Linked DNA regions of Homo sapiens: regions 2 and 3 are each linked to region 1. Evidence: promoter capture Hi-C in human tissues and cell types (Jung and others, 2019). All regions are on one chromosome and are shown on one strand. The core of a region is centred on a gene start or on the middle of the fragment in contact, and the rest is flanking DNA. Distances in the headings are between cores, read along the strand shown.

Region 1 (4,209 bases), core at 898-3,397:
AGGAGAGTGGGCACCCAGGGAGGATGAGAGCCATGAACCAGGAAGCCCACAGGCTGTAGCTGGGGCTCCTGCAGGGACCCAGGGGGTCCCATTTCCCTAGCACCACCCCACCTCCCTCCTCTGCCGCACACCACGCTCTCTGCTTTCTCCCTTAGCAGACTGTGCTGGCCTTGCCCAACCTCACACACCCCTGGGACTTAGCCGGCTCAGGGCTGGTGTGAGAGGGAAGAATGCAATAGGCAGATTAGCCCGGGCACCCTGGGAAACCCTGCAAGGAAAGCACCACTCAGCCATGCCCCCTTTCTCTCCTCCTCCAAGGTCCCTCTGTGTGCCTGTGCCCTCTGTGCCACCAGGGAGTGCCTATACATCCTGTCCAGCCACGACATTGAGCAGCACGCCCCCTATCGCCACCTGCCAGCCAGCAGGGTGGTGGGGACTCCTGAGCCCAGCCTGGGGGCCAGAGCACCCCAGGACCCCGGGGGGATGGCCCAGGCCTGCGAGGAGTACCTCAGCCAGATCCACAGTTGCCAAACGTTGCAGGACCGCACGGAGAAGATGAAGGAGATCGTAGGGTGGATGCCCCTGATGGCCGCACAGAAGGACTTCTTCTGGGAGGCCCTGGACATGCTGCAGAGGGCTGAAGGAGGCGGGGGTGGTGTAGGGCCCCCAGCCCCTGAGACCTAATCCCCCTCATGCTAGCCTAGTCCCTGGAGGAGGGAGTCCGGCCCCAGGCCAGGGACTAAGGAGCAATGACCATTGTGCACATGCGTGTGGGAAGGGGTTGCTAGGGGGTGGGGACGGCTAACCAGGGTAAGAATGTTCAGGGGGCTGCCCAGGAGGGGCCCCCAACCTGACTATCATGGACAAGAGATTTGATGGATAGAATAAAAGGCTGCAGCGAGGCCTGGTGTGGAAGCCTTGGGGGCTGGGAGGGACAGGGGCAGGGATGGGGTGGGTGGGTGCCCGGCTTGGTGGGTGCAGGAGGGCAGGAGCCCAGGCAGGGGCAGGCAGCACAAGCAGCTCCAGGTCTCAGGTGCAGCAGAGCTGATGCTGCCTGAACCCTTCACATTGTTGTCCACTCCCTGCTCCCAAGAGCACACCTGGTCGTTTGGACTGGGAAGTTCTGGCCCTACCTTCTGGAACAACTCTATGCACAGATGCTCTTGGCTACCCCACTGGGATCCCCTGCCCACTAGACTTGTCCCCATCCTGAGGCAGCCTGTTCCTCCTGACCCCCGAAAGCTTCCCACCCATCTCCCTTCGGCCTGAAGCCAGCCCCCCTCCTCTCTCCCTTCTGTTTACCTCCCAGGTTTGGGCTCTATTTTCTACTCCTTCCACCTCTTCCTGAGTAACAAGGACACTCCCTTCATCCACACCCCATGCCTCCTGCCTTGCTTCCTGTACCTTCAAGTAGTTGGAAGAGGTCATGGGTGAGAATTCCTTCTCCTTGGCCTAGTCTGGCCCAGGTCTGGAGAGAAGGCAATGGAGATGTGAAGTGGAGGCCAGGTGTGGTGGCTACGCCTATAATCCCAGCACTTTGGGAGTCCGAGGTGGGCGGATCACCTGAGGCTAGGAATTTGAGACCAGCCTGGACAGCATGCTGAAACCCTGCCTCTACTAAAAATACAAAAATTAGCCAGGTGTGGAGGCATGCACCTGCAGTCCCAGCTACTCGGGAGGCTAAGGCACAAGAATTGCTTGAACCCGGGAGGCGGAGGTTGCAGTGAGCAGAGATCGCGCCACTGCACTCCAGCCTGGGTCACAGAATGAGACTCTGTCTCAAAAAAAAAAAAAAAAAAAAAAAGAAATTGAAGTGGAAAATGAGCTGGCAGGGGTGGTCAGGCAGGGGGTGAGCAATGAGGGCTCCTGAGCTGAGGAAGCAGGGGCGGGGGGAGGATGGGGGCTAGGGAGTCCTCAGAAGTTCCCGGAGATACTCCCTCACTGGACAGAGTGGGGTTCCCGATGACGTTACTTGAGGCCTGGGAGACGGCCTCTGCCCCTCACTGCTCCTCCCCCTCCTAAGGTCAACATTTATGTGTCCTAGACCTAGAGAGGTCCCAGGACACGCCACTGTCCCGCCTTCCCCATTGCCCGCCCCACTGGCCAGTCCCCACGCCCACACACCCAAGGCTGCCCCATCTGGCGCTGATTATCCTGCTGCTGCCGCCACCGCTGCTGCTGCTCTGCAAAATTCAGCTGCTGCCTCTGTCTTGAGGACCCCAGCGCCTTTCCCCCGGGGCCATGCTGCCTGCAGCCACAGCCTCCCTCCTGGGGCCCCTCCTCACTGCCTGCGCCCTGCTGCCTTTTGCCCAGGGCCAGACCCCCAACTACACCAGGTAGGTCTCTTGGCATCTTCCAGACAGCTCCAGTGAACTTCAGACCCCCGATTCCTTTGGGGTTATGCCTGGAGATATTTTGGGTTCCCTTGCTGACACACCACTCCCCAGATTCCCCACCGCCTCACCCTTCTCTGGCCCCCAAATCCTCCCCATCTGCTGCAAGACCTTGGTCTCCTGCAGGCCACCACTGCTCCCATTCCCCCACCTTCGTCCTCTGGTCTCTTAAGTCTCCCCACCCACCCAGATCCTTGACCCCCCATAGAACCCAAGAGAGAGCCAAGCTCCTGAACTTGCCTGGTAGCTGGATTCCAGGAAGGAATTCGAGAGGGATTGTAGGGGGAGGAGGGGGCAGTGAGTGGAGACTTGGGAGTCAGAATCTGAAGTAGTTTGGAACAGGGGCAGGGCTAAGGTGTGGAGCTCGCGGAGCCTGGCCTCCAGGTTCAATCAGAGGGCCATCGCCACTGCAGCTCCCTCCATCTCTCCACCCCCTCCCCCCCACCGCCTCGTGGCTGTGTCCACATCTGGAAGTAGTTAGGCGGCTCCTGTCCCTGGACTGCCAGGCAGAGTGAGGCGGGAGTCTGGAAGGGGGGCCGAGGAGGATTCCGGGAATTCCTGTTGGGGTGGGGGTGGGGACTCTTGGGGTTGGAGGGATGGTCGAGTTGCCAGGCCCACTTTTCCCTTATCTTTGTGGGAGTCTGGGACACCCCAGCCCTGTCCTGGCTGGTGGAAGCTGCCCCAGGTCTCTCAAGGCCTTTCCATTTCATCCCCCAGCTTCCCTCCTTGGAGTTTCATCCTCATCACCTCATCCCCATCTTGCCAGTGCTCCCCCGTCCCACCCGTCCCTGCTCTTTCCTGACCCCTTTTCTGTTCTCCAGACCCGTGTTCCTGTGCGGAGGGGATGTGAAGGGGGAATCAGGTTACGTGGCAAGTGAGGGGTTCCCCAACCTCTACCCCCCTAATAAGGAGTGCATCTGGACCATAACGGTGAGAAACCCCTCTGGGCACTACCCCTTGTTAAAGTCTCAGAGGCAAAAAGGCCTGACTGCGAAGGGACCCCCCCCCCGTCCCCCCCGCACCACCTTCTCAACCTGGGGCAGCTCCAAGTGTCTTCCCTCTGTCACTGAAGGCATCATTCCCACCGTAACACGCATCATCTTAACCCTTCCCTCAAATCTTCATTCTCCAGTCCCCGGCCCTCCCTCCTCTTCCAAAGCCTCAGCTCTTGTCCCCTGCACAGGCTACCAGCAGAGCTGCAGAGACCAGGCCCTCTGCTCTGCACTCACATGGAGGCCCCTTCCCATTCAGTCCGTTTCTGCAAGAAACGCTTGGGGCAGGGGAGCTGCCCTCTGGCTGGGTTGTGTGGGGCCTGACTCTGTGGGTCCCCGCCTCTGTCCCCGCTATCAGGTCCCCGAGGGCCAGACTGTGTCCCTCTCATTCCGAGTCTTCGACCTGGAGCTGCACCCCGCCTGCCGCTACGATGCTCTGGAGGTCTTCGCTGGGTCTGGGACTTCCGGCCAGCGGCTCGGACGCTTTTGTGGGACCTTCCGGCCTGCGCCCCTAGTCGCCCCCGGCAACCAGGTGACCCTGAGGATGACGACGGATGAGGGCACAGGAGGACGAGGCTTCCTGCTCTGGTACAGCGGGCGGGCCACCTCGGGCACTGGTGAGAACTCCCTCACCTCCGCCTTCCCCCCCTCCAGGCCCCGCCCCGGCCGCAGCCCCGCCCCCAGCCCTAACCTCCGCCCCGCCCACCCCGCGCCCCAGTGCCTAGGGCCCCCTACCTCCCTGACCCATTTTCCTCACTAACCGCCCCTTCAGTCCCTCCTCCCCGTCTTCTCTCCCCTCCTCCCGCACCCACCCATCCCTCTTC
Region 2 (4,209 bases), core at 679-3,178, 240 kb after region 1:
TGAGTTAAAAGAAAAACTCATGTCGGCCCCAGCCCTGAGGCTACCTGAACCCTTTACACCCTACGTGTCAGAAAGAGAAAAAAAGGCAGTTAGAGTTTTAACCCAGACTGTAGGGCCCTGGGCAAGGCCAGTGGCCTATCTCTCAAAACAACTAGACAAGGTTTCCAAAGGCTGGCCCCCAGGTTTAAGGGCCCTAGCAGCAATGGCCCTGTTAGCACAAGAAGCAGATAAACTAACCCTTAGGCAAAACCTGAATATAAAGTCCCCCCATGCTGTGGTAACTTGAATGACTACCAAAGGACCTCATTGGTTACAAATGCTAGATTAACCAAGTACCAAAGCTTGCTATGTGAAAATCCCCACATAACCATTGAAGTTTGCAACACCCTAAACCCCACCACCTTGCTGCCAGTATCAGAAAGCCCAGTTGAACATAACTGTATAGGGGTGTTAGACTCAGTTTATCCTAGCAGGCCCAACCTCCGAAACCATCCTTAAACATCAGTAGACTGTGAGCAGTATGTGGACGGAAGCAGCTTCGCCAGCCCCTGCAAAGTGACTCTGAAGAAGATGACAAGCCCTGCTCCAGTCACACCCGGAAGCTGACTGGTCCACGCATGGCCGAAGCATGAGAAAACTCATCGCAGGACTCATTTGCCTTAAAATTTGGAATTTTACAGTAAGGACTTCAACTGACCTTCCTCAGACTGAGGACTGTTCCCAGTATATACATCAAGTCACTGAGGTAGGACAAAAGGTTGCTATGGTCCTATTATTTTACAGTTATTATAAGTGTACTAGAACTCTAAAAAAGCCTTGTTTGTATAATGTTATTCTGTACAAGGTATGTAGCCCAGGAAATGACCAACCTGATGTGCGTTATGACCCACCTGAGCCTCCCATGACCACAGTTTTTAAAATAAGATTAAGAATGAAGACTGGTGGGGGCTCACAAACGATATGAGTAAAGTGTTAACCAAAACAGAAGAAAAAGAGGTGCCCAAACAAGTCACGTTAAAATTTGATGCCTGTGCTATCATTAATAGTAATAAGTTGGGAATAAGGTGTAGTTCTCTTAATTAGAAAAGAGGCTATATGGCAGAAAATAAGTACATCTGTCATAAATTAGGACTGTGTGGAAATAAATGTAAATACTGGTCTTGTGTCATTTAAGCCACTTAAATTAAAAAAAAATAAAAAGGACCCAGTCCACCTTCAGAAAGGAAAAAATGGCCCTTCCTGTACTAAAGGACAATGTAACCCTTTAGAGCTAGTAATAACCAATCCCCTTGATCCTCGCTAGAAAAAAGAGGAGCGTGTGACCTTAGGAATCAACGGGGCTGGACTGGATCCTCGAGTAAATATCTTAGTTCGAGGAGAAGTTTATAAACGCTCTCCTGAGCCAGTATTTCAAAACTTCTATGATAAACTAAAAGTGCCAGTACCAGAAATTCCAGGAAAAACAAGAAATTTGTTTTTGCAATTAGCCGAGCGTGCAGCCCAGTCTCTCAATGTCACTTCCTGTTATATATGTGGAGGAGCTGTAATAGGAGATCAATGGCCATGGGAAGCCCGAGAATTGGTACCTACATACCCAGTTCCTGATGAATTCCTGGCACAAAAAAATCACCCTGATCACTTCTAGGTCCTAAAAGCCTCAATCATTGGACAATACTGTATAGCAAAAGTGGAGAAGGACTTCATCCTTCCTGTAGGAAGACTGCATGGTGGACTTCAAACCACACAGAGAAAAATCCATTCACTAAATTTCCAAAGTTGCGGACCGTTTAGGCCCACCCAGAATCCCACCAGGACTGGACGGCCCCCACTAGGCTATACTAGATATGTGGACATAGAGCCTACGCTAGGCTGCCTGACCAGCAGACAAGTAGTTGTGTTATTGGCGCTATTTTATTTTATTTATTTATTTATTTTTTTGAGACGGAGTCTTGCTCTGTCGCCCAGGCTGGAGTGCAGTGGAGCAATCTCGGCTCACTGCAAACTCTACCTCCCGGGTTCACGCCATTCTCCTGCCTCAGCCTCCCGAGTAGCTGGGACTACAGGAGCCCGCCACCATGCCCGGCTAATTTTTTGTATTTTTAGTAGAGACGGGGTTTCACCATGTAAGCCAGGATGGTCTCGATCTCCTGCCCTTGTGATCCACCCGCCTCGGCCTCCCAAAGTGCTGGGATTATAGGCGTGGGCCACCACGCCCGGCCTATTGGCACTATTAAACCATCTTTCTTCCTACTGCCCATAAAAACAGGCCAACTCCTAGGCTTCCCTGTCTATGCTTCCCGTGAAAAGAGAAGCATAGCCATAGGAAATTCAAAAAATGATAAATGGCCCTCTGAGAGAATCATACAATATTATAGGCCTGCTACTTAGACACAAGACGGCTCGTGAAGATACTGGACCCCCATTTATATAATCAACTGAATCATATGGTTACAAGCTGTCTTAAAAATAATCACTAATAAAACCAGCAGAGCCTTGACTATTCTAGGCCGGCAAGAAACTCAGATGAGAAATGCTCTCTATCAAAATAGATTAGCTCTCGACTACTTGCTAGCAGCTGAAGGAGAGGTCTGTAAGAAATTTAACCTTACTAATTGCTGCCTACACATAGATAATCAAAGGCAAGTAGTTGAAGACATAGAGATATGACAAAACTGGCACATGTGCCTAGGCAAGTGTGGCATGGATTTGATCCTGAGGCCATGTTTAGAAAATGGTTCCCAGTGCTAAGAGAATTTAAAAGTCTTATAATAAGAGTTATAATAGTAATAGGAACCTGCTTACTGCTCCTTTGTTTGCTACCTGTACTTCTTCAAATGATAAAAAGCTTCATTGCAGGCCGGGCGCGGTGGCTCACGCCTGTAATCCCAGCACTTTGGGAGGCCGAGGCGGGTGGATCACGAGGTCAGGAGATGGAGACCATCCTGGCTAACACGGTGAAACCCTGTCTCTACTAAAAATACAAAAAAATGAGCCGGGCGTGGTGGCGGGCGCCTGTAGTCCCAGTTACTCGGGAGGCTGAGGCAGGAGAATGGCATGAACCCAGGAGGCGGAGCTGGCAGTGAGCCGAGATCGCGCCACTGCACTCTAGCCTGGGCGACAAAGTGAGACTCCGTCTCAAAAAAAAAAAAAAGCTTCATCGCTACCTTAGTTCACCAAAATGCTTCAGCACAAGTGTACTATATGAATCACTATCGATCTGTCGTGCAAGAAGACATGGGTAGTGAGAATGAAAGTGAGAACTTCCACTATTGAGTGAGTCTCAAAGGGGAGGAATAAAGGAAGAGACCGCCCCTCATATTGTCTTATGCCCAATTTCTGCCTCCAAAGAAAGAAAAAGTAAAAACTAAAAGGCAGAAATAAAATCCACAAGCAGACAGCCTGGTGCCACACCCTAGGCCTAGTAGTTAAAGATCGACCCCTGACCTAATCGGTTATGTTATCTATAGATTATAGACATTGTATAGAAAAGCACTGTGAAAATCCCTGTCCTGTTTTCTTCCAATCTAATTACCGGTGCATGCAGCCCCCAGTCACGTACCCCCTGCTTGCTCAATCGATCAAGACCCTCTCTTGCGCGCCCCCTGAGAGTTGTGAGCCCTTAAAAAAGACAGGAATTGCTCACTCGAGGAGCTTGGCTCTTGAGACAAGAGTCTTGCCGATGCCCCCGGCCGAATAAACCCCTTCCTTCTTTAACTCAGTGTCTGAGGAGTTTTGTCTGCGGCTCGTCCTGCTACATTAATGGAAATACAATGTTGGCCAGGCTGGTCCTAAACGCCTGACCTCAAGTGATCCACCCGCCTTGGCCTCCCCAAATGGTGGGAGTACAGGCGTGAGCCACCGCGCCCAGCCGGGAGATGCTGTTAATATTGAAGTCAAGGCATCAGGCATACAGCAGGACTGTAGTTGGTGAGTCAGGCCATCATATTTACAGATGTGGCCTTTGGCTTTTGCTTTGAGGAGAAAGGCATGTCATTGGAGAATTATGAAAGGTGGCACCCATCGGGAATGGATGTTTACCTAAACAGCACCCCTCTAGCTGCTCAGCTGAGAATAGATTTTGGGACAAGTGCAGAAGTGGGAAAACCAGTTAGGAGGCTATTGTGAAAGCGGAAGAGGTGATGGTGGCTTGGACTTGGGTGGTAAAATGTGGTTGCAGACTGGTTATAACTTGAAAGTGGAGGCCAAAGG
Region 3 (4,209 bases), core at 966-3,465, 230 kb after region 1:
GACAGCCCTGCTCACTGGGGACAGGATGCCCGGGTTCTGGGAAGGGGGTGGATAGAGGCTGCCGTCTCCACCCTCCATTGTTCCAGCCGGGATAGTGTTTTCCTGTCTCCAATTTACACACTGTCTCTGCCTCGGGCTGTCCGCAGCCCAGAGCAAGCGCAGGCTCCCTTTCTGCGTCCCAGCTCAGCTGCAGCCACGCTTTGATCTGTCAGTTCGCATGTCTCTCACCTATCTCTCCTCCACTCTCTGTCCACCTCCGTTTCTCTTTCTGACAGTCACTATCTCTCCTTCGCTTTCGGCCTCCACTTCTCGCTGTTCCTCGCGGCACAGGGCCTTGGATAAACTACTTAACCTTAACTAAGCCCCAGCCTCCTCATCTGAAAAATGGGGGCAATAATAGCACCACCCTTAGCGTTGCTGGATGGGTGAAATTAATATTTGTAAGGCGCTCAGCACAGGCCTGGTGCTTGGAAACACTCAGGTAATAGGTGTCACAATCACCATTTCCTCTTTGCGTCTTTCCTTCTCACCACACCTCGTCCTCGTGGTTTTTCCACCCCTTTGGCCTTCCTCTTCCCCTCGTTCATGGTTTTTGTTCCCCCTTCTCCGTTCTCTGAGCTGGGCAAGCCTCCCCTCACTCCCAACCCCACACCTAGCCTTTGATCCCCAGCCCAGGGCAGTCCTGCCCAGCCAGGGGGAGAGGGTTTTTCTAACGCCGCTGAATCCTTCCCTTTGGGAGTCCCTCATAGCCTACCGCCCCATAACCACTTTCATACCAGACAGAGAAAGGGGGGTGTTGGCAGCTCACTGAAAGGACATTAGGGACACAGGAGAGTTTCTAGGGCTCTTGGCTCCCCCTTTAGGGGACCAGGAGGGACAGCGATCCATGGCCAAAGAAATGCTTGGAGAGACCAGGAGGTGGGAGATAGACTGGGTTAGTTAGGGCGATGTGGGGGCTGTGTAGGTCAGTTTCTACCTGGGGGCTGTGTAGGTCAGTTTCTACCCGCTCCTAGGTCTCAAGGGAAGCCCGGGACTCACCTGGGGCCGGGGTCTAGACCGCATTTAAAGGGATGGGGTGCAGCCTGTAGAAACCAAGGAGCCACCCTATACCAGGGGCAGGAGCAGTGGGCGGGAGAGCGGTTTGGGGGTTTGCTGTGTGAATGCAAAGGAGGCCATCCTGTTGCAGGAGTGTGGAACTGGAGGATCAAGGTGTGATCGCTAAGGAATTGGCGCTGGGGGTCGTTTTAGGGCCTAGCACGAAAAGTTGTGCCTTGTCTGCTGTTGCTTCTCCAGAAACCTTCCCTCATGTACGGCGGGAGGTGGGACTGGGACAGAAACTTTGCAGATAGTTTTGAATAGTGGGGTAGGGAGGAAAGGAAAGGCAGCCAGGGGCGTATGTAATCAGCAGTGAGAGTTCGGGGAGCCCGGGCAGGGGAATGTCCCGGGTCGTAGCCAGACTCCATCTCTTTCCCAAACAAAAGAAAACTCCACTACCCGTCGGGCGCCTCTTCCCCGCCCCCCTCCCGTTCCAGCACTATCGGTCCGAAGTGTTTGGGACTGCAGTGCCCGGGTAGGGGTAGTCAGAGGCCGGCCCCTCCACTCCGAGGCCCAGATGTTGGGGGGGAGGTCCCAGGAGTGACGGGGTGCGCCCCCCCCCGCAAGGAAACTCACCTTCCAAAGCTGCGGCCAACGAAGCCCAGCAGAGCAGCACCCGGAGCTCCATGGCGCCGCCTCACTCGGGTAGGATCCGAACTGAGTTTGGGGGGCCCTCGCCCCCCCAGGTCTGACTCTCCCTGGGCGGGTGGACGCCGATACTCCGCGCGGGACTCCTCGTCGGGGCCCTCAGCGCGGGCCCATGCGAGCGTGCGGGGCACCGGGCGGCGGCGCCAAGTGTGGCCCCGCGTCTGTGCCGCGCGCGCGGGCGGCGGGCCCGGAGCGTGCTGGCAGTGGCCGCGCCGGGCGGGCGCGCAGCAAGACGTGGCTGGAGTTGGGGTCCCTCCGGGGCCTCGGGGTCCCGCCCCGGGTGGCGGGGGCTGAGCCGGCCGCTCGCGGTCTCCCCCCCTCCCTGGAGTGGCTCTGCTCGCGCCGCCGGGCCGAGTGCTCTCCTCGCGGGCGGGGATGGTGGGAGCCCGAGCGGGGACGGAGCGGGAGGGAGGGAGACTGCGGCGCGGAGCCGGGCGGGCCGGGCCGGGCAGGGGCTGAGCTGCGCTGGAACTGGGCCGGGCGGCGCCGGGCCCGGGAGGGAGGGGCGCGCGGGGGGCGGGGGCAGCTCTCCCAACGCGGGGGCTCCGCGAGTGAGCCCCGGGCGCGCTGATTGGAGCTCACGCTACTGAATAATTCATGAGGGAAGCGGAGAGGGGCACCGAGTGGAGCAGGTCGGGAAGTTGAGAGAAAGTTTGGAGAAGGGGGAGGGGCGGCGGGTGAGGAACCCCGGGACCGCCCAGATGTGCGCCGTGGCGGTGCGCGCTGTCCAGGACCGAGCATGTCGGGGCTGGGGCCCAGGGACCCCCGGGACAGGCCCGAACCCGGCTGGCACCAGGGAGCAGAGAAAACACACACCCAGCAGCAACACGGAGGGCCGCCCAGGCGTGCACGTAAATGTTCACCGCGCACACAAAGCCCGCTCTGACCTTGCTGCGGACTCTAGATGCCGCTCTTGGATGCGCCCACCACCCTCTAGTGGGCGCAGGGACTGCGTTTTGGGGGAAAAGGAAGGAAAAGGGAGTAGAAGCTTTGGAGAATTGACGGCCGCCCAGGGGGCCTCAAGGAGCAATCCCAGTTTGGATAGCCTTGCAGCGAACGTTCACACAGTCACCCCATAAACATTCAGTGTTGGGGACCTACTGTGCGCGCAACCAAGCCCTGAAAAATGTCCAGAGGAGGCGCGCACTAAGCTGCGCTAGGGAGTAGAGAAAAATCGAGGAAACAACGGTAAAGAAAAGGTGGGTGTGGCGGGCGCGGTGGCTCACGCCTGTAGTCCCAGCATTTTGGGAGGCAGAGGCAGGCGGATCATTTGAGGTCAGGAGTTCAAGACCAGCCTGGCCAACATGATGAAACCCCGTCTCTACTAAAAATACAAAAATTAGCTGGGCATGGTGGCGCGCGCCTGTAATCCTAGCTACTCGGGAGGCTGAGGCAGGAGAATTGCTTGAACCGGGACCTAGGAGGCGGAGGTTGCAGTGAGCTGGGAGCTGAGATCGCGCCACTGCACTCCAGCCTGGGCTACAGAGTGAGACGAAATCTCAAAAAAAAAAAAAAAAAAAAAAAAGGTGGGTGTGTCCGAGAGGGTGAGGGGTCCGGCTAGATCTCCAAATCGCCCTTCTCACTCTCACTCTCGTGTTTTGGGGGGGCTTCCCCGCCGCCCGCAGCCATGACCCCTGAGGCTGGGGCTGCGGCTGCGGCTGCTGTCTTTCCTGAGCTGTTTCCTGTCTGGCTCCTGGGGGCCCTCGGGATGGCTGGGAGGGGCCCTTCCTCTCACTGCCAACTCCCCTCACCCTCCCATCAGTTAGCGGGGAGGGTCCAGCACAGCCGTGCTCCTCCCACCAACCCCCTTCTACTTCAGGGAACTTAACAGTATGGGTTACTGGATAGATGGATTGGAGGGGGTGCTGCTCCAGGAGTCAGCCCCTCCAAGGGGCAGAAGGAAAGGACTTAGACTCCCACAGTAATTAGCGGGGACAGATTTTTTTTTTTTTTTTGAGACAGAGTCTCCCTCTATTTCCCAGGCTGGAGTGCAGTGGCGTGATCTGGGCTCACTGCAACCTCCGCCTCCCAGGTTCAAGCGATTCTCCTGCCTCAGCCTCCCGAGTAGCTGGGATTACAGGCACAGGGCACCAACCCCGGCTAGTTTTCGTATTTTTAGTAGAGACAGGGTTTCGCCATGTTGGCCAGGCTGGTCTCGAACTCCTGACCTAAAGTGATCCACCCACCTTGGCCTCCCAAAGTGCTGGGATTACAGACGTTAGCCACCGCGCCCAGCCGGAGGACAGAATCTTGAGGAGCCCAGCAAGAGAGACGTTGGAGCCCAGCAAGAGAGACGTTGGAGTCCAGGATGCTTGGGGGGCTGCCAAGCGCCCTTACGTCCCAGAAAGGACAGCCGGGCCTGTGATAACCTCTTGTCCCGGCTTACTTATCTTCCTGCTGCAAGAGGTGTTCCCCACACCCCTGCCCTTCCTTGCTGTTCTGCCTGGGTCCTGCGCCCGGGTTGGG

The links. The method cuts DNA at HindIII sites, captures the fragments that hold promoters and counts their contacts. A contact is called where the count stands out against the background at its distance.
Region 2: a contact is called between a fragment that was not itself captured here and the fragment with the promoter of PCOLCE in region 1, in 1 of the 25 tissues and cell types used here (dorsolateral prefrontal cortex).
Region 3: a contact is called between the fragment with the promoter of EPHB4 here and the fragment with the promoter of PCOLCE in region 1, in 1 of the 25 tissues and cell types used here (IMR-90 fibroblasts).

Annotation. Positions count from the first base shown.
Region 1 is chr7:100,600,216-100,604,424 of GRCh38, forward strand. It overlaps PCOLCE (procollagen C-endopeptidase enhancer), which reads left to right and starts at 2,148. Exons shown (of 9, transcript NM_002593.4): 1 at 2,148-2,336; 2 at 3,215-3,323; 3 at 3,744-4,002. The coding sequence starts at 2,242. It overlaps FBXO24 (F-box protein 24), which reads left to right. Exons shown (of 10, transcript NM_033506.3): 10 at 319-902. The coding sequence ends at 684. PCOLCE-AS1 (PCOLCE antisense RNA 1) reads right to left here and starts at 3,823. Exons shown (of 9, transcript NR_038910.1): 1 at 3,623-3,823; 2 at 2,125-2,951; 3 at 1,405-1,468; 4 at 508-637. RefSeq lists an enhancer at 3,257-4,049 and a silencer at 4,057-4,209. The HindIII fragment of the contact is 8,861 bases long and covers 1-4,209 here.
Region 2 is chr7:100,843,430-100,847,638 of GRCh38, forward strand. The region is part of intron 1 of SLC12A9-AS1 (SLC12A9 antisense RNA 1); the gene reads right to left. It also overlaps a transcript of SLC12A9 not described here. Among named protein-coding and RNA genes, the nearest start is that of SLC12A9-AS1, 7.1 kb to the right of the region's middle. The HindIII fragment of the contact is 3,628 bases long and covers 115-3,742 here.
Region 3 is chr7:100,825,308-100,829,516 of GRCh38, forward strand. EPHB4 (EPH receptor B4) reads right to left here and starts at 2,216. Exons shown (of 17, transcript NM_004444.5): 1 at 1,672-2,216. The coding sequence starts at 1,723. It also overlaps a transcript of SLC12A9 not described here. RefSeq lists enhancers at 2,220-3,015, 3,812-4,209. The HindIII fragment of the contact is 16,187 bases long and covers 1-4,209 here.